Regions from separate parts of the Homo sapiens genome. Here all the other regions are linked to region 4. The links are contacts of gene promoters, found by promoter capture Hi-C in blood cells and fetal thymus (Javierre and others, 2016). All regions are on one chromosome and are shown on one strand. The core of a region is centred on a gene start or on the middle of the fragment in contact, and the rest is flanking DNA. Distances in the headings are between cores, read along the strand shown. Region 1 overlaps KLF9-DT (KLF9 divergent transcript). Region 2 overlaps PIP5K1B (phosphatidylinositol-4-phosphate 5-kinase type 1 beta). Region 3 overlaps KLF9 (KLF transcription factor 9). Region 4 holds the start of PTAR1 (protein prenyltransferase alpha subunit repeat containing 1). Region 5 overlaps PIP5K1B (phosphatidylinositol-4-phosphate 5-kinase type 1 beta). Region 6 overlaps FXN (frataxin).

Region 1 (3,374 bases), core at 453-2,952, 660 kb after region 4:
TCAGGCTAAAATCACACTCTGTAGGTATTGGGTTCTGCCAGTTCTGGCTTTTCTCACTCTTTCCTGCTGGGAGGGGTGGACCGTGCCGGGCAGAACTGCCAGCCTCCAGGCGGGAAGGAAGGAGGAGAACAGATGGCCCACTGGGGGTAGAGGATCACGTGTTGGACCTCATTCTGGGCTGCATCCAGACCTCTCCCTTTCAGGGCCCAGCCCCTCCAGCTCCAGCGACCCCACCTAGGCACACGGAACATATGTGGAGGAAACCAGTGTTCATTTTGTTGAAAGCAGGGGAATTAGAGAAGGAGGCGAGCTTGAGGAGGGGAGAGGCTAAAGGGATAAAGCTTCCAACAATGGCGATGTTCCTGGATTTTGAAATACAATCAGGTAAAGCCCGATCTGGTGGAACGCCCGTGGCCATAATGACAGCTAACACCCAGGGGCTGGAGGGGGAAGGGCGCTCAGGCAAGCGCGAAAACTTGCACGCCGCCCTACTTTGCTCCCGCCCCACTTAGCAGCCTTCCGCAAAACTCCAGCCCTCTCCTCTGCAGCGCAGAAAGGCCGCCCGTTCATGCATATGCAGGAGGATAAGTTTAGCTCGCAGCCCCCCGCGCTCCGACCGGCCCAGCGCGGCACTCGGTGAATCACCCGCGCTCGGGGGCGGGCGCTCGGCTCCGGCCGCGGACTGGCGGGCGACTCAGCCACTCGTGGACCGCGCGCCCCGGCCTGGCATCGCCCTTTTAAAAAGTCTTCCGCAGGCGGCCGCCGCCGCAGCAGCCTGAGGAGGCGAGTTCATCTGAGGACAGTCCCAGTTCTCAGAAATCCCTTCCCTGCTGGAACATCAAGCTCCCTTTACTGCAGTTGAACAAACTGCCCTAGATTGGGGGACCAGGAACCCGCCCCAAACTCGTGCAAGGAGCTCCGGGCGCCCACGCCCACGTGAGCTAACCTTGAAATTAGCCCCTGCACCCGGGAGCGCGGGGGTGGGAGTGGGCGGGGACCGGGGGGGAGCCCCGCGCGGCCCAGGCCCTTGCTTTGCGCTCTCCGCGTGCACGTACCGCCCCCGCCACCCTGTTTCATAACTCTGGCGGTGTTGCATTTTTTTTTCTTTTAATCTCCCGGGTAGATGGGTGTGGGGTTCCTGTGTTGGGGAGAGGGCAGGGCACCTTGGCCACCTTCCATCCCCCACGCCCGCGAGGAAGAGGAAAACCTGCCCTGCGGTCCTCCTAGGAACACTGCAGAGTAGGGTGTCGAGATGACATCAGCTTCTAAACATAGCAAGCACCGCACCCCAACTCCATGGGCTGCGGGGGTGGGGAGGGAGTGGGGGAGGCGGGTGCTGCTGTCCCCGGGCGGGGCGTGGCGGGCAGGCCGGCCAGGCTGTGCGGGAGGAGATGACTTTGCAGGAATTGCGCTCCCAGAGTTTGCCGGCAGATCTCTCCCGCGATGGCCCGGCCAAGGGGTTAGGAAACATTCCTGCCATTCCGTGCTCTCCCCTACCCCACAAGAACCACACGCACGCACACACGCACTCTTGGATCGAATGTGCCTTTATTTATAAATCAATCCAGCCCCAGCCCAGGTTCGGTCCGGTCCCGGGAGCACCTGCGCCCCGCGTCTGCCTTCAGGCTAAGCCTGCGAGGGGTTCGGTGTGGCCCTCCCAGTGAGTCAGAATGGGCTGTGTTTCCTGTGGTTGTTGTGGAACAGTTTGTCCTTTTTACTCTCCGCCCCCCCCGCCCCGTCTCCACCCCCTTGGTAAATATAGCGCTCACGTTTCATCATCTCTTTGTCCAACGAGTGCCAGACACCCCGGCCCGCGGCCCCCGCCGCCTCCCTCCTCCTCTCCGCTCGGTTACCTCGCATAACCTCGCGCGGGCAGGCACCGGGCAGCAGCTCTCCCCGCGGCCGCGCCCGCCCGGCACCCAGCGCTTCCCGCCGCAGCACACCCCCAACCCATTCTCCCCTCCCCTTCTTCCAGTTCCCCCTTCTGTACGGCCCCCATGCTCTTGTCCCACCCCCTCTACTCGGCGTCCGGGTACTGGGTCGAGACGTGTGTAGGTGTAGGGAGGTGGATAGCCCTTTTCCGAGCCGTAGGCGTCACCCCTACGCCCAGGCCCAGGCCCAGTGCTGGATCCTGCACTTTCCCAACCTCCCCCTCCCAAGTTCCAAGGTTGCCCTCTGTTCCCCTCCCAAGCGCAGGTGACAAGCTGCTGAGACAGTGTCTGATTCACCGACAGCTGAACCAGCTACTGGTACTTGGAGGTGGGCGTTTGCTGAACTGTTTTCCTCCCACCTCCCCCAACCCCCTACCCCGGTGGGGAGCGGGCTGGAGGGTCGGAAGAGGCAAGGTGGATGACAGCCGAGAAGTGCGTGCCCGCTCTTCCCTCTCTCCCTCCTCCTCCCAGTTTCATTTCCACACATACAGCCACCCACCGGGGACCGGAGGCGGCTAGTGTTCTCTGAACGCCGGGAACTGGCTCTCTCTGTGGTCTCCTGTTTACTTCCCTCCTCCTCTTTTCCCCTCCCTTCTCCCCGCCCCCATCTCCCGGCGCCGCTTCCCGCCCAGAGCAGCTGGGAAACCTGCAGCTGAACACTGCAGTCATGGGACTTCCCTGGCCCCGAGCTGTGCCCCAGGTTTGCCCTGTCCTGTCCTGCCTTGCCCTGTGTCCGCTTTTTGGGGGGCACTTATTTGTCCTGAAAAGGGTCTTAAGGCTCCCTATCCAGGAACGTGGAAGAGGTGACTGCTTCCCTCCCCCTTCCTCTCCTCCTGACTCCCCTGCCAGCTACCTTCCTGTGGGGGCCCTGCCTGGCTGTCTTTTTTGGCCAGGATTCTGGGCCACCCCCACGAGTGGCCACCTGTCCAGGGAGAAGTGGTGAGACAGCTAACGGTGTGTAAGAACTCTGCATCCAGGATGCTGCAGAGCTGGCTTCTTTGCCATCACAGACTGTCCTGTTCGTAACAGGGTGCCCAAAATTCTCTGCCGACCAAGGTTTTCAGGCAGAACCCCAAAACCTGCTCCTAGGGACACACCCTCTCCTTATGGAGTCTGGCAAAACCTTTCCTTTCAAAGCTTGCTTCACAGCGGGGAAGAATGCAGGCTCTCTCCCTAAGTAAGCTGAATGAACAAAGGACTCCAAGGAGGCCGTGGGGGTTCCAGCTCTGGGTGCCGCCTGCCTGAAGTTCACCCCATTTAAAAACCACCTCTTCACCACCACCCTCTGCTCCACTGCCATGGTTACCAGCTCCCTGTCCTTCCCAGCACAATGTTGCACAGAGGCAGAAACAAACAAGGACATTTAAAATGTTCTTTTAAATACCCAAAACACTGCCTTGGTATTTTGGTAGCAGAGAAGAGGGAATAAAAGTCCTGACTGTT
Region 2 (3,048 bases), core at 394-2,893, 980 kb before region 4:
AAACTATGGAAGCATCTTTGACTTTTCCTTTTCTCTGTTGGATTAGCTTAATCACCAAGTCCTGTCAACTTCTGAAATGAATCTCAAATTTCTTCCCTTCTCTATCTGTTGCCCCTGATTTTGCCTTAAGTTCTTGCCTGAGTGATCTCCCAGCCTGTCTTCTGTCTCCTTTTGGTTCAGTCTTTATACTGCCTCTTGAGTAATCTTTCTGAAATTTAAACTTGATATTTTTCGCCCTCTTGCTTGAAAACTTCACTTGCTTCCCCATTTCCTACTCTTTAAGGAATGATTTCTTTAGCCTCAGATAGAAGGACCTTTATGATCTGGCCATATTCTGAAATAGCTTCAATCCTCTCCTCATCTCTGTTCCAGTATACATCTTTCCTTCTTATTCTGCAAACATTAGACCACTTGATATTCTTTAAATATGTCATGTACTTTTCTTGTGTCTGTTCTTTGGGATAATTCCTATCCTTTTCAGGGAGGCAAATTGCACGTGAGTTTAAGTATGAAGGCAATGTATACCTGCTGATTGTAAAATATTTAAACATTGTACATATCTGTGTGGTTTTAAAAGTCTGCTTTTAATTATGTAAAATTCATCTTCCCTTTCCACAGATAACTTCTGTTAACAACTTGATATCTATTGTACAAGATGTGTTACTGGCATTTCCATGTATATATGTATATAAATGCAGGAAACCAACATGTCATTGACACCTCTCTTCTTTACTTTTCCCCATATCTAATCATTCCTCAAGTCTTACTGATTTTTATCAGCTAGAATCTATCTCCTTATTTCTACCTCTATTGCCACTCTGATCCAGGCTACCAGCATTTCCCTCTTAGGCTTCTGAAGCAACTTCCTAACTCCCACTTGTGCTCCTCACACTCACTCTGGTCGGCTATCCATTCATTCTCCATACAGCAACTAGAGTCATTCTTTTAAAATTGCGGACCTGATCCTTCCATCTCCCAGCTGAACGCTTTTCATTTGCTTCCTGTTCTCATGAGTATGCCAAAATGTATTAATTCTGGGCTAGGAGGCCCTGAGGAATTTGGTCCTTCCCTCCTCCCCCCTCGTTTTCTGTGCTTCGCCCTCACTGGCTTGCCTTTCTTTTCCTTAAATACATCATGTTCTCTCCTATTTTAGATCCTTTTCCCCGAAGGTATGGAAACATTATTTCTGTAAGCTTATTCTTCTATATAGATGGGAAGTTTTTAAATCAGATAAGGTTCTAAGGGCATGTGGACAATTTACGTTATCATAGTATTGTTCATAACGTCCATCATTATTCTGTAGACTGTAAGGGCTTACTTAGCTCGTGTAAGAATTATCCTTCAAAAAGCATTTTTAAGGTATTAGTATTGCTAATCTATAAACTTTGTGCAAGAAGTCCTAAAGTCAATAGCAACATTTATTTAAAGTACAGTTTGTCATACTTAATAAACCTCTGGTATATTTTCCTTTATTATGCTTGTTAAAAACACAGTATAAATGGGAGAAATCATTAAAGATCATTAACTCCAAGGCTGCTGGATGTTAGGACCCTTAAGCATACTTAAAAGATTGATTGTAATCAAGAATAACTTGTATCAGATTGCCTTCCAGTGATTCACATTTATTAGTTCAACCAGTTACATACCTGTAGCAAGAGACCAGTTTATTTGGCAATAAAATTGGGGAAGGAATCAAGACTTAAATGAGGAAAGTGAGTCTGAGAACATTTTTTTTCAGGGTGTGTTTATAGATTAGTAGAACAATTTTGAAGATCTAACAGAGGTGGGAGTCAGGGGAATGGTTGCCAGACAATTGAACCAAGAAGATGATGATCATTTCTTGAGTAGCACCAGAGAACAGAAGAAAGAGTTGGCCTTGGAAAGGAGGTCTGGAAACTTATTTTTCTTCTGAAACAGGAGGGAGAGTGAAAAGGCTAGGCAAAGATATCCATAAATGTTGAATTGATTTGTTGTTGCAGGGGTTTAGGAGTATGGAGGTAGGTATATGAAAAGTAGAATTTGTTTCTGATTGTGCCTATTTTCCAATTATTGAGGAATCTAAGATACATGAGGATAGGGACAGGAGATCATTTGGAAGCTTGAGTGCAGTAAAGGTTTAATGTTGCCTCTGAGAATCTAAAGGAGTAAGTTAAGGACAAGTAGAAGGCTTATTAGGCTATGATGGATGCCAGGTTGCAGTTGGATGGCAGGCACAAGGAAGTGGGTTGGATTGACTAGGTTTGGGAATTGGTTAAGTGGGTACTAGGTAAAGCCCAGTGTGTGAAGTAGTTAAGGGTTCTGCTGAAAGTGTAGTTTGAATGATTGGCTGAGGCATTGAGGATAAGAGAAGGGAGCAGAGGCTTATGGACTAGACCACTTTTTTCAGGGCTTTACCTTATCAGCCATGACAAAGTATAGAGAATCTGGTCTCAATGTAGGTCTCTCACTCCAGCAGTTTTGCCCACATTTTTCATGGCTGTTAGAGAATCAGGGCTGAAGGCAAGCCTTGAGTGCCACTTACTTGGTAAAAAATTGTGTCAGATTGCTCACTGTAGCCAAGACAGAGTTCTTTGTGGCTTCTGTAACTTGCCATCCAAGTAAAAAAATTTTCTTAAAAGTTGAAATGACCTTTGTATAAAAAGTAATAAAATACTTGCTATGTGTCAGGGACTGTTCTAAGTGCTAAGCAAATATATCAATGCATTTAATCTATCACTATCATCTGAGGCAAGTGCTATCATTATCCTCATTTTATAAATGAGGAAATGGAGACACAGGTTGAGTTACTTGCCCAGGATTCCAGAGCTGGGAGGTAGGCAGCGAATTGTGGTGGTTAGGAATATAGACAGTGGAGCAGGGTGGCTGTGGTGAGGATTGAATGGGTTCGTACACAATGTGCTTACAAAGATGCTGGGCAATTAGCATCCTTGATGGATGAAACTCCTGCTTTCACACTCAGTTAACAGTACAATATCCTTCAAAGCAGGCTATCCTTTTATGAAGCGATTGTTTCTGATGTTAGCCTTTCTTATAGTGAACAGACATTTC
Region 3 (3,293 bases), core at 446-2,945, 630 kb after region 4:
GAGAAAGTTATATGAAATTAAAATTTCCTTGTCTGCATATAGTTTTATTGGAAACAGCCATGCTCATTGGTTTAAGTATTATCTACAGCTGCATTCTCAAAACAGCAGTGTTGAGCAGTTGCCCACAGAGACTGTACAGCCTGCAAAGCTGAAAATATTTACTATCAGGACCTTTTGCAAAAAGTTGGTTGATTCCTGATCTCAATCAAAAGACTTGAAGCTGGGTGTGGCGTTGCACACCTATAATCCCAGCTACTGGGGATGAGGCATGAGAATCGCTTGAACCCGAGGGGCGGAGGTTGTGGTGAGCCAAGATCACGCCACTGCACTCCAGTCTGGGCAACAGAGTGAGACCCTGTCTCAAGTAAATAAACAAATAACAGAGGACTTGAACTTCTAACTGGCCACCAGAATTTGTAAATTCAAATGTCTTCAGGAGCCAGACACAGGTCGGGGACAGGGTGGGAGCAGGTGCATTCAATCATGGATCATAATGGATTCCATGGTGAACTGAACAGGGTGCTTCCCCTACTTAGAGGCATTCAATTTCAACATTATAAATTATGGTGCCACCCAGTGGTGTGTACGCAGGCTGGATTCTGCTTAGGGACCTACAATTTGTAGCCCTTTGAAAAATCTCCCACCTTTTTAATACAGTGGAGAGTTTGGATCTAACATGCCATGATGTTGAATCTAACATCCCAGCATATAAGTTAATGACAGTCATATAATAAGGTATTATTTAGAAAATGATAGATGTTTTGCACTTAAGAAAGCATGGAATGGGGAAGTCACATGTAGACGAGAACAGAATTAAGGCTGAATGGGACCAGAGATGATCTACAGAGGAGGAGAGGACTGGCCTAGAGAGACGGTCACTCCACCTTCGTCTGGCAGCCTGGGGGAAACCAAGTCAGGCCCTCTCTTTGAGGCTCGGTGCTAAGGTCTAAAGGAGAATGGTCAGCCTTCACGCTGAACAAATCACACAGCAATGCAACTATCAATTAGAGAATCTTTAAACCTGTCTTTAGTATTAATGAGAGAGTTACCATCCTCCTGGGGATAGGGAAAAAAATACCCAACACACTTGTACCACTGCATTATTTCTGGCCTTCACAGGAAAACACACCCAGAGGCAGTGACACAATAAACTCCACTTTACTGGAGCAGAGCTGTTAACAGCACAAGTTTCTCTGAGTTCTCATTATTTATATACCACTCCCCGCCCCTTTCAGTAACAAGCTAAGCACCTCTTGCTGACTGACTCAGCTCAGAGTATAAAATAAATGTGATCAAAAAAGCTACTGAACACTGCGCACAATGTGTAAAAGACTTCCTTTGCAGAGACAGTCATCAGGCCTCCAGAATTCTCCTGGGCCTACGGAGGGTGCAAGAACAGTGGACTGGGGCCCCCTGGCTATGTGCTTGCCTACTTAGCACAAAAGGACACTTGCTGCTTTTGAGAGGGAGCCTCCTCGACTGCTGATTAGTTGATGATGCCAAATGAAGCCCATTTTTTTGTGGGCAGTCCTGAAACGAATGGAGGTGAGTTCTCCATAGAGAAGACAGAGACCGGGTACTTGCCAAGTGCCAAGCTTGCTCACTGGACATAGGCAACCCTCCCCAGACTCCCTGAGCTGTCCAGGCTGCCACTGAAGTCCTGCCTGGGGTCAGGGAGGCCTGCCATCTGAATGTCGTCTCTTTCCTACCTGGTTCTTCTCATCTTCCCTGCCCCACCCAAGTCCAGGGATGGGTCTAACTTTAATGGAGACAGGAAAGTCAAAAATACAAAATCAAAAGCTTCCATTGCATCTAGCAAAAGTAAACCAATCTGGTAAAAAACAAATCTAAGGGATTTAGGCCTCCTTTTCAGAACAGAGCTCAAACAGTGCCAATTAAGAATTAAAGTTTCTTGCAGATGTAGAAAATCAAGACTTCTTCTAGAAGAAAAATAATGCTCAGCCGCTCAAGATGGATCACTTGAACACAGAAGTTCAAGACCAGCCTGGGCAATGTGGTGAAACCCCATCTCTACCAAAAATACAACAAATTAGCCAGGCGTAGTGGTGCTTGCCTGTGGTCCCAGATACTTGGGAGGCTGAGGCGGGAAGATTGCTTGAGCCCAAAGGTTGAGGCTGCAGTGAGCTATGATTGTGCCACTGCACTGCAGCCTGGGTGAGAGTGAGACTGAGACCCTGTCTCAAAAAAAAAAAAAAAAAAAAGAGTGGTTTCTGATTGCAAAAACAGCACTAGGATTCCATAGATAAAAGAAGAATTTGGGCTGGCTGTGGTAGCTCACGCCTGTAATCCCAGCACTTTGGGAGGCTGAGATGGGAGGACTGCTTGAGCCCAGGAGATCAAAACCAATCTGGGCAACACAGTAACACCCCAACTCTACAAAAGAAATGTAATTTTAAAAAGGACAATTTGATATTATTAAATCATACTGATATTATTCCCCCATTTAACAGCTCATACACACACACACACACACACATTTAGTATCATTTAATATCATATACACACTCTTATCGTGTACAAAATAGTATATGATAAAATTGAACAACCATCCCTAATAAAAGCTTTCAGGAAAATAAAATAATTCCTCAGCAGTATAAAAGATCAGCTCTGAAACCTTTCCTCTGCAAGGTCAACAGTAAAATAAAGGTAGTATAACTACTAAAGTCTAGCCCAAAGCATAAATGGACACCCGCTCCCATTGCTATAATTTAACATTTTCCAGGAAATACTAATGAGTGCAATTAGATAAAATAAGAAGTAAATGGTGAGAAGAAGGGGGGGTTATAAAATAAGAATTATTTGCAGTTGACACAACTTTCTCTTTGAAAAAATTCAAGATAACTGAAAAATCTAATCTAAATTAAAGGTGCATTCACAGATGTAACTGTACAAAAGAGCACTGGCTTTCTTATATGCCAGCCATAACCAGTCAGAATAAGCCTAACAATAAAAGTTCAGGACCTTGGTGAAGAAATGCATAAAGCCTCAATATAAAAGAAAATGAACAAACAAAATGCTTGCCATGCCTTTGGATGGTAAGGCTCAATGGTGTGAATATGGCAATTCTGTACAAATTCATCTACGGAATTAACACACACCGTAAGAATTTCTTTTTCTAGAACTTGACAAAGTTATTTCTGAAGTTCATTTGGAAGAATAAACATGCCCAACTTGCCAAGAAAATTTTGCGGAAGAACAAATAATAAGTGAGCACTTGCAATACTAGTTATTAAAATGGATTATTAAAGCTGTAATAATTAAGATAGTGAGAT
Region 4 (3,080 bases), core at 218-2,717:
GCAGTCATAAGGGGGAGGGAAGTGGATGCTGTCAGAGGTGGCAGGTGTGTTTTGAGGCCAGCAGTGTTTTGTTTTTAATGTGGCACAGTTGCACGTCTCCAATTGTGTGCCACAAGGGAGCAAAACATCCAACGGCTTCTTAACTGTTTTACAATCATCACCTTGGAGGAAAAGAACACTTTGGTAAGATACACGTTTGGCAACTTTTTTAGGCAGAAAAGCTGAACCGGTTAGAATACTTAAAAAAAAAAATCATGAGCTCCAGTCTAAAGAATAAAATAAAAATAAATTAAATAATAATAAAAAATAATAAACTAAAAAAAAAAAAAATAAACTCCAAAAACAACTAGCTAAAATGAAAGTAATGCAGAACTGGATGCCATGTTTCTTTTCTTTGAGGAGGAAGAGGTATGGGAAAGGAGGTACATTGTTGCTTCTTCCCTACACCTTTGTATAATGTAGATCTCTCTCTCTCTCTCAATAGCTTTCTTTTCACTTGTTACATAAAAGCAAAGTGTTACAAAAAGTAGACTCTTGCGGTATCTTCCCACAGTACTTCAAGTAAAATGGAAGAGATACATATGTCAGTTCTGCAGTGTCCCGTTAAAGAGGGCAGCAGTGTTGGGATAAAAATGAGTTAACATGCTCCTTGTAACTATGAATCCGCTTATGCTAAAAAGTATCAAGGTTTCATTTGCTTTATCCCAGACTCCACACTGCGCCCACAGAAGCTTCTCTTGAGAATGTTCTGTTCACCTTTCAAAACACAATGTATTATCGGAGTCACTTTACAATTTTGTGGCAAGTAAGGCTAAAGTCAAAAGCAGCCTCAAACCACCTTTAGTTAGTAAACTGAGGGGTTTGAGGCTCATTAAAAGTAAGAGGATCGGTTACCCCCTCTTGCCAACGTCCGGGATGAATCTCAAGAGTTGTGTTTACAAGGCATACACGGACCCACATCGTTGTGTGCGCCCGAGTACCTTAAACACAGGAAGGATGTCGACCTACGGGGGACGTCTCTGGAGTTTCGTGAACTCCTATGAAAAGGTGGGGAGGGACAGAGAAAGTAGTTCCGTTTTGATTTTTTGAGGTCACTTCTAGGGACTCGACCGCGAGCGCGTCCCGGTAGCGGAAAGCCGGGCCAGCGGCGGCCGACAACGGTCCCGCCCGACACGGCTCTGCCTCCTCCCTAGAAGGGCTCGTGGGCCAGGACCCGCTGTCCGCCCGCCGCCCGAGGTCGGGTGGACGCTTGGCCCCGCCCCCGCCCGCTCCCGACGACCCTCGGAGGCGGCGGAGGCGCGCGACTCACATGTGTGGGTTCCTCCTGAAGGCGTTAGTGATGTCCTTCACAACCCGCTGCACCAGCACCGCCACCTCCTCGCTGGTCTCGGCCATGTTGGCGGCGGCCGCGACAGTTCGGGCGCGCCTCCGCGTGAGCCGGGCCGCCGGCGGGAGTTCCGCGGAGAACGAGCGCGCGCGCGCGCGCGCGGGTGCTTCGGCTAGGCCGCGTCCCCGCCGCCGCGGCCGCCGCCGAGCACTTCCGGGTCAGCCAGTTGGCGGCCTGGGCGTGGCGTTAGCTAGGGTTGGTGGCCTTCCAGTGAGTGGAGAAGTTCGCCTCCGCGCGGGTAACGGACTTTCTAAGCGTCAGAGAAGATGCTGGACATTTGTTTGCAAAGTTCTCTCAGGCCTCCGATTTTCTTATTTTAAGTTTTAGGCGAAACCTCAAGACACACTCCCAGAGAGTCAGACACCTTCCTGAACCCCCCCAGCAAGGTCCCCGGGCATTCCTGAAGGAATGTTCAACTGAGGATGCAGGGCCTCTTAACAGTTAGTCCCGGGCGTTTTTCAGAGCTTGTCTGCTTTATTTTCCCAGCCTGAGAGATGAAGAGGTCCAGAGGCATTGCGGCGGAGCGAGTCCCTATTTGACCGTGTTGGTGACCTCCTTTCTAACTGTGCCAATTTTTGTCTCTGAACTTGAAAGCAGCCTTTTTAAAAAACATTAATTAAAATTCTTAAATTTATTAAAGGAAGAGAAAGGAAAGTGAAGGAAAAGTTATTTGCCATCTGTATGTAGGAAGTAGAAGTGAAATCGTTTTTAGATTTTTCGACTTCATTTTGTACTGCATTTGGTAGCCTTTGCGTCAATTTTGGAATTTAAAAAAAAGGATCAAGGCTCTGACAGGGTTTGTTCATAATAGCAAAAATAAATTTTTGTAGGAAAAACGAGCTTTCTAGTTTATTTAGGATTTTGAAATGCCATAACTAAAATTTTTGTGTATCAGGTTTTCTTTTGCACCTCTGGTAGAAAAATCTGGCTGCCCTTGGTTCAGTTTTATTCTTCCACCCTTGAAATCTGGCCAGGTGCGGTGGCTCACGCCTGTAATCCCAGCACTTTGGGGGGCCAAGGCGGGCGGATCACAAGGTCAGGAGATCGAGACCATCCTGGCTAACACGGTGAAACCCCGTCTCTACTAAAAATACAAAAAAAAAAAAAAAAAAAAAAAAGCCGGGCGTGGTGGCGGGCGCCTGTAATCCCAGCTACTCCCCACTGCACTCCAGCCTGGGCGACAGAGCGAGACTCCGTCTTTAAAAAAAGGCCGGGCGCGGTGGCTCACGCCTGTAATCCCAGCACCTTGGGAGGCCGAGGCGGGTGGATCATGAGGTCAGGAGATCGAGACCATCCTGGCTAACAAGGTGAAACCCCGTCTCTACTAAAAATACAAAAAATTAGCTGGGCGCGGTGGCGGGCGCCTGTAGTCCCAGCTACTCGGGAGGCTGAGGCAGGAGAATGGCGTGAACCCGGGAAGCGGAGCTTGCAGTGAGCCGAGATTGCGCCACTGCAGTCCGCAGTCCGGCCTGGGCGACAGAGCGAGACTCTGTCTCAAAAAAAAAAAAAAAGAAATCTGTATCTTTAAAAAGCTATTAAAAAAATAAACTCATGGTGTGTTTAATGTGAACATATGCGGAGCGTTTGAAGTAGTTTTTATGATTGTAAAAGTAAAAGCTATCTATTGCATGTAAAGTGAATGAGAAATATAAACGAAAAATATAAATTTACTATACTCAGTGGCCAGTATTTC
Region 5 (3,359 bases), core at 465-2,964, 990 kb before region 4:
ATAGCCATACTTCACAGCCATTGAAATTGAAGATGTAAGTCTATATTTACTGATATGGAAAAAGTGTTCACAACAAATATGGAAAGGGCAAGTTAATAAACATTGCATTATGTAGATAGGTAGGTATGTACACAGATAAAAATCTGGAATGCTTTTTATTACAGTGTCAAAAGTAATTGTTTCTGGGTGATGGGATTGTGGGTAATTTTCAACTATTTTTTTCTATGTGTCTGTATTTTAAATTTTTTTACAATAAATAAATATCTCTTTATTACCAAAACAAAGGTAAAAAATCAACAATATCAGATATCAAAAAGGAGAAGTAACCAAAAAATATTGTTAGGTACTACATGAAACACTATGGAGATAGGTGAAGTAAGTGGTATTTCTAGGAAAATTTACTTTATTAAAGTGGTCCCAGGAGAGAGTCAGTAACCATGAAAGAAATAAAAATGTTATCAAAAGATGCTTTCTAAATTCAAAGTGCAGGCCCCCAGATAGCCCAAGTAAATTCTTCAAATAGTCAGGGATATTGATATTAAGTAGGGTAACTATATAGTTTATTGAAGGGAGCTTTAATTGAGAGAACCAGTATAAACTAGAATGCCCCATGTAAACCTGACAGATGGTCACATTACTATTTCAACTTTTTCTAAGTATAGAGCAAAAGACAGACTTTCAAGATTTTTTAAGATACCAAAATGATCTTAGTACCAAAACTTCACAAAGATAGCTGGCATGGGCATGTGCCTGTATGTGCACACACTGCAGATCAATCTTGATGCAAAACCCTTTCATAAAATACCATCAGATAGAATTTAGCAATGCAGTCCGGGCGCTGTGGCTCACGCCTGTAATCCCAGCACTTTGGGAGGCCGAGGCGGGTGGATCACTTAAGGTCAGGAGTTCGAGACCAGCCTGACCAACATGGTGAAACCGCGTCTCTACTAAAAATACAAAAATTAGCCAGGTGTGGTGGTGCACACCTGTAATCCCATCTATTCGGGAGGCTGAGGCAGGGGAATCGCTTGAACCTGGGAGGTGGAAGCTGCAGTGAGCCGAGACTGCGCCACTGCACTCCAGCCTGGGTGACAGAGCAAGACTCTGTCTTAAAAAAAAAAAAAAAAAAAAGAAAAAGAAATAATTTAGCAATGCATTAAATAAATACCATGATCAAGTAGGTACATCACAAGAATTTAAGCTTGGCTCAATAATGGAGAAGCTAGTCCACATATTAGATGAAAAAAGAAAAACCTGTATGGTCATCTTAATAGGTGCCAAAAATACTAAAATTCAACATCCACTAGTAGATTAATTTGGGCAGTGGTTACATGACTGTTTAAGTTTGTCAAAACTAACTGAACTATATTCTTTAAAAGGGTGAATTTTATTGCACTAAATTATATGCCACTAAAATGAACTTTTAAAGGAATAAATAAAATTATAAGTTTATAGTAACAAAAAAAACTGACACACATTCCCAAATAAAAAGAAAAAAATTAAAACTTAGTAAAATAAGTAGAATGCATTCCCATTTAAATCAAATATATAAGAATGCTGACTTTCACTGAAATTATAAACTGTACACGGAAAGTACCAGTCAGGAGATAAGGAAATAATAGACATAAATATTGGGGAGGAAGTTGCAAAGTTAACATTATTTGCAGATATTTCAATTGCACAGCTAGAAAGAATCAACTGAAAAATTATTGGAAACAACAAGAGAAATCAGTAAGATGGATGGCTAGTTATAACTATGCCGGTGGGAAGAGAAGTGGGAAGAAAAGGAAAAAGTGGATGTATACATGATTTGAAGTTTCCACCATCATTCATATGTATGTGACACACCCCAGGCCCTACACTAAGTGCTGCAGGACACTTTACCTACAAGACACAGTGGCTGCCCTTTTTCAGAGACCATGTAGCCAGAGACAGAAGTTGGGTATACATAAAAATGACAAAGGACTTTATGGAGCAGTGATCATCAAGGGGCAGAAGAGGAATTCACAGTCCTGGGGAAGGAAGGCATAGACTGTAAAGTAAGGAGAGAGAAGAATGGGTTGTCAGAGGTCACAGCTTGTCCTCAGAGCCTAAGACAGCCTTTAGAACCTTTTGATTAGGTCTACCCTATGTTTAACTTTTAAATTTGTTTTTTAGTTCAACATCTACAAATTGTAAGCATCCACATTTTTAAAAATCTAGATTTTTAACCTCTATTAAAAAATTAGAAGCTTGGGCAATGTATGGCATCCTTTTCTGCAAGGGCAGCTGTTGGGTGGAATTGAGCAGTAGCTGTCAGCCACCTTTAGGTGCCTGGGTCTCTCCAGTCTGTTAAGTGCAAATGCTCTATTCTCTCAGTACTGTCACCCATTAGTTATCTATCTGTTGTTGGCCCTTGGAGGCATTTCAATAGAAACCCCTGGTGCTAATAATAAAGTAAAGATACTGGGCAAACCTTCTCCACTCTTGGTCATACAACAGTACTTTTAAAAATTAGCTAGTCGTAGTCGCCCTGTTGGGAAAAGCCACGGAAGCATTTGAACAAATGATGAAGTGTTTGCCTCAGTAAATGTACAACTTGTTTATTCCCAGTAATGCATCCCTATTTCCCCGTATTATTTTTTAAATTGAAAAATTATTTTAAAAATTGAAAAAGAAGATTGAGAGGCTATCTTTGTGGGGAACTGGCCATTGTCTACATCTTCCTCAATGCATTCTTTCTTTTGAATTCTGAGGCATGTGCAGAATGCTTTTTAGCCCAGGGAAATCTTTCTGTTCTGTGACACATCATTAAGATTAATTGAGCCTTTCAATTTTACATTTTCCAAGAGCAAATTAAGTAGGAAAAATGGGACAGGTTTTCACTGTCACTTATACTGTGTTTTTTTTTCTAGCTTATATTCTACATCTGATGGTCAGATCTGTTAGGTATTCGAAAAGCAGTAGCATTAATTGCATTTTCCCTTCCTTTTTGCTGAAGGGCAGATGTTTTTATGTTGTTAATGGTGGGTTGGGTTAAACATAAGCAGCACACTGAAAGTATAACTAGCTATTATTTATGAGAAAAGAACAATGTAATTCCCCAGATTTGGCTAATCTAAAACTAAGGTTTATTTTATAGACTTTAAATAAATAAATATTTATAACCTATAATTTTGCCCTTAGTTCTATGCCCTCAATACACTCTAGGCTTTTGGTCCCATTTGTCTTTCCTTTTTTGTATCATCGGTATTTTTCTTACCTCTAGTTATTTCTGGGGAAAGAATGAATGTTTAAGGAAATTCTGTCCTCAAGAACACTTCCGTGGCCTGTCAAGGTGGCATGACATTGCTTGCTTTCCTCTCGTTCTTCATGAAAAT
Region 6 (3,369 bases), core at 641-3,140, 720 kb before region 4:
GCTGTTGGTGCATTGATCTTGGATTTCCCACCCTCCAGGACTCTAAGAAACACATTTCTATTGTTTATAAGCCACCCAGTGGCTGGTATTTTGTTATAACATCCCAGACTAAGACAAATAACAAATACTTGTATCCCTGACACCAGGTTAAGAGATAGAATTTGTTTGTTCCTCTGGAGGCCCTTGTCTTCACCCCATCACTGCCCTGTCCTCCCTGGAGGAATCTGCCAGCCCGAATTCTGTTCATCGTACCCTCCTTTTCTTAGAGTTTGACCTCCTCTGTATCTCCCCCAATCCATGTATTGCTTATATACAAGGTATTCTGCTGTATCTGTTCTGCTATGGCTTGCCCCTTTTGTTCAACACTGTTTTTGTGCGTCATCTGCATTGATGCATGCAGTTGTCCTTTATTTGTTCTCACTGCTGGATAGTATCTGGTTGGGTAAATATATCACACTGTAAATCACACTATCCAGGTTCCTTTAGGTGACATTTGGTTGATTGCAGTGTTCTGTTGTTACGATGGTGCTGCTGTGACTGTTCTTGTGCATGGACAGAAGTTCCTTTCAGGTGAATTTCTCAGAATGGAATTGCTGGGCAAAGGGGCAGCCAATAATCAACTCATTTGATGCCAAAAGTGGTGGTGCCAGTTCATCCTCCCCTGCGAGGTATGGGTCCTGATTCACTCTTCAAGTGCTGTGGTTTGACAGGGCCGGGGGTGACAAGGGGACACCTGGGAAGGAAAGCTGGGCTCCCTGCTGGCCATCCAGGCCAGTCCTTACCAGGGGGTAGGCAATGATTGGGTCAAGTGGTTCCTGACCACTGGGCCTGAGACTTCAGGCCCAGAAACTATCTAATATTTCCTCAAATGCATCCCATGAGCAGGCACTGTGTGAGTGAGCACACACATCTGAAGCCTCAAGCTAGGCAAGCCTACCATGACTTGTGGTCCAAGGGCTCACGGGTGACCTGGAGTTAGAGGGAGACATGGCTGCCAGGTGGCTTTAGAAAGAACACTCATCATGGCCAGGTGCGGTGGCTTACGCCTGTAATCCCAGCACTTTGGGAGGCCAAGGTGGGTGGATCATGAGGTCAGGAGTGAGACCAGCCTGACCAACATGCTGAAACCTGTCTCTCCTAAAAACACAAAAATTAGCTGGGCATGGAGGTGCACGCCTGTAATCCCAGCTACTCAGGAGGCTGAGGCAGGAGAATCACTTGAACCCGGGAGGCGGAGGTTGCAATAAGCCTAGATTGTGCCACTGCATTCCAGCCTGGGCAACAGAGCAAGACTCCGTCTCAGAAAAAAAAAAAAAAAGGAAGAACACTCATCCTATGACCTTGACCTCCAAGCTTTGCCTCCCTCAAGCAGAACAGAATGGAGCCTCCCTTAGGCAGAGGCGGAAGTTTGCCTCTCACCTAGTTCTCCATTCTTTTGTTCAGAGCCTGAATACCCTCAGGCTCTGTACTTGGGGTATTTCTGTTCTCTTGTTTTATGCTCACGGTTGTGAGGTTTGTTGTGAGTACCACGATCCCTTCCTTCAGAGGAGTAAACTGAGGTTCCAAAAGGTTTAGCAGTTGCCCGAGGAATATTAAATTGGCAAAAGCAGGTAGAATATAAAGCAAGGAGTATTTGGCAACGGTTCTTTTTTATGATTAAAAACAGCCGAAGAAAGACTTCTACTTGTGCCTTTGAAGGAGTAACTGCATTTGACCTTCCCACCAGTAACAACCATCAAATCTCTATTAAATTAAACACACACACACACAAACAAAAACAGCTATTGTGAAGGTATCAGCGACTAAGACAACTAAGGTTTGAGGGGCCAGGATCCTGGAGAGATGGAAACTTCCCTGAGGTGAGCCCCACATTCTCAGACACTTTTCCTTGGATGTTTTGAGCACTGCTTTAATTCCTGGGAAAACAATTCCTTCCACTGTGCACAGACTCTGGGGCCAGACAGCTTGGGTTCAATCCCAGCTCTGCCACTTAATGTCTGTGTATCTGTGTAGGCAAGTTACCCTTTGGTGCGTCAGTTTCCTCATCTGTAAAACACAACTATAGTTGATCCTCATTCGTTAAGAGTCTGTACTTGTTAATTTGCTCACTTGCTAAAATTTGTTACCCCAAAATCAGTACCCCTAGCCTTTTGGGGTCGTTTCAAAGATGTGTGCAGAGCGGCAAAAAAATGTGAGCTCCTCCAGGCTCATGTTCCCAGCCAAGGTCCAACAAAGTGCTGCCCTGCCTTCTTATTTCAGCTGTCATAGTGTAAACTGTGTCCTTTTCACAGTCTGATTAGTGCCATGTTTTTCAGATTTTTATGCTTTTTTCTTGGTTATTTCTCTGTTAAAATTGTCTCCAAGTGTAGTGCAAAGTTTAGCACGAGGAGGCTGTGATGTTCCTTACAGAGAAAATGCATGTGTTAGAGAAGCTTTGTCAGGCATGAGTTAAGGTGCTGTTGTCCTGAGATCAATTAATTTGTTGTTGTTGTTGTTTGAGACAGGGTCTCCCTCTGTTGCCCAGGCTGCTGGAGTGCAATGGTGTAATCATAGCTCACTGCAGCCTCTACCTCTCTGGCTCAAGCAATCCTCCCACCTCGGCCTCCTGAGTAGCTGGGACTACAGGTACACCCCACCACACCCAGATAATGTTTTTGATATTTTTTTAGGTGGAATTTTGCTCATCACCCAGGCTGGAGTGCAATGGTGCGATCCTGGCTCACTGCAACCTCCACCTCCCGGATTCAAGCAATTCTTCTGCCTCAGCCTCCTGAGTAGCACAGATTACAGGCACATGTCATCACGCCTTGCTAATTTTTGTGTTTTTAGTAGAGGCGGGGTTTCACCATGTTGGCCAGGCTAGTCTTGAACTCCTGACCTCAGGTGATCCACCCGCCTCCGCCTCCCAAACTGCAGAGATTATAGGCACGAACCACAATGCCCGGCCTCATGTTTTTTATTTTTCAAGTTGAAATGAGGTCTCTCTATGTTGCCCAGGTTGGTCTCAAACTCTTGAGCTCAAGTAATCCTCCCACCTTGGCCTCCCAAAGTGCGGGGATTACAGGTGTGAGCTACCATGCCCAGCCAAGATCAGTGTTAATGAATCAACTATATATATTACATAAGGTGTCTTTAAACAGAAATAAGGTTATATATTGATCGATTGGTAACAATGTTGTGACCAGCAGCTTACAGGGTACCTAGCCTTGTATTTCTCCTATAAATAATTTGCTCGTTGAGTGTTTGTGGCAACTTTGTAGCACATAACTACCAAGAATAAGGACTGTAATAAGAGTACGTCCCTCACAGGATTGTAATGAAGACTGAGTCCATTTACATAAAGGCTGAGAGCAGTGTCAAGCAGATGGA

Evidence for each region. Contacts are between HindIII fragments. The CHiCAGO score rates a contact against its expected background, and 5 or more counts as called.
Region 1: a contact is called between a fragment that was not itself captured here and the fragment with the promoter of PTAR1 in region 4, in 2 of 17 cell types (total CD8 T cells and total B cells). The highest score is 5.6, in total CD8 T cells.
Region 2: a contact is called between a fragment that was not itself captured here and the fragment with the promoter of PTAR1 in region 4, in 2 of 17 cell types (total CD8 T cells and fetal thymus). The highest score is 8.3, in total CD8 T cells.
Region 3: a contact is called between a fragment that was not itself captured here and the fragment with the promoter of PTAR1 in region 4, in 1 of 17 cell types (naive CD8 T cells). The highest score is 5.5, in naive CD8 T cells.
Region 5: a fragment that was not itself captured here is called in contact with the fragment with the promoter of PTAR1 in region 4 in 1 of 17 cell types (total CD8 T cells); the score reaches 6.4 in total CD8 T cells.
Region 6: a fragment that was not itself captured here is called in contact with the fragment with the promoter of PTAR1 in region 4 in 3 of 17 cell types (total CD8 T cells, naive CD8 T cells and non-activated CD4 T cells); the score reaches 6.4 in total CD8 T cells.

The regions. Positions count from the first base shown.
Region 1 is chr9:70,418,428-70,421,801 of GRCh38, forward strand. The region is part of intron 1 of KLF9-DT (KLF9 divergent transcript); the gene reads left to right. Among named protein-coding and RNA genes, the nearest start is that of KLF9, 5.5 kb to the left of the region's middle. RefSeq lists an enhancer at 378-1,099 and silencers at 537-846, 947-996, 1,927-2,016. The HindIII fragment of the contact is 2,727 bases long and covers 340-3,066 here.
Region 2 is chr9:68,782,897-68,785,944 of GRCh38, forward strand. All of the region lies in intron 2 of PIP5K1B (phosphatidylinositol-4-phosphate 5-kinase type 1 beta), which reads left to right. PABIR1 (PP2A Aalpha (PPP2R1A) and B55A (PPP2R2A) interacting phosphatase regulator 1) reads left to right here. Exons shown (of 1, transcript NM_138333.5): 1 at 1-2,670. Among named protein-coding and RNA genes, the nearest start is that of PABIR1, 4.4 kb to the left of the region's middle. The HindIII fragment of the contact is 905 bases long and covers 1,192-2,096 here.
Region 3 is chr9:70,391,823-70,395,115 of GRCh38, forward strand. The region is part of intron 1 of KLF9 (KLF transcription factor 9); the gene reads right to left. It overlaps LOC124900273 (a long non-coding RNA gene), which reads right to left. Exons shown (of 2, transcript XR_007061576.1): 2 at 1,235-3,293. Among named protein-coding and RNA genes, the nearest start is that of KLF9-DT, 21 kb to the right of the region's middle. The HindIII fragment of the contact is 205 bases long and covers 1,594-1,798 here.
Region 4 is chr9:69,758,544-69,761,623 of GRCh38, forward strand. PTAR1 (protein prenyltransferase alpha subunit repeat containing 1) reads right to left here and starts at 1,468. Exons shown (of 8, transcript NM_001099666.2): 1 at 1,310-1,468. The coding sequence starts at 1,395. It overlaps LOC105376076 (a long non-coding RNA gene), which reads left to right and starts at 1,552. Exons shown (of 4, transcript XR_929910.3): 1 at 1,552-1,930. RefSeq lists enhancers at 966-1,015, 2,490-3,080 and a silencer at 1,156-1,625. The HindIII fragment of the contact is 9,606 bases long and covers 730-3,080 here.
Region 5 is chr9:68,766,483-68,769,841 of GRCh38, forward strand. All of the region lies in intron 2 of PIP5K1B (phosphatidylinositol-4-phosphate 5-kinase type 1 beta), which reads left to right. Among named protein-coding and RNA genes, the nearest start is that of PABIR1, 12 kb to the right of the region's middle. The HindIII fragment of the contact is 1,030 bases long and covers 1,200-2,229 here.
Region 6 is chr9:69,040,937-69,044,305 of GRCh38, forward strand. The region is part of intron 1 of FXN (frataxin); the gene reads left to right. Among named protein-coding and RNA genes, the nearest start is that of FXN, 6.9 kb to the left of the region's middle. The HindIII fragment of the contact is 1,079 bases long and covers 1,352-2,430 here.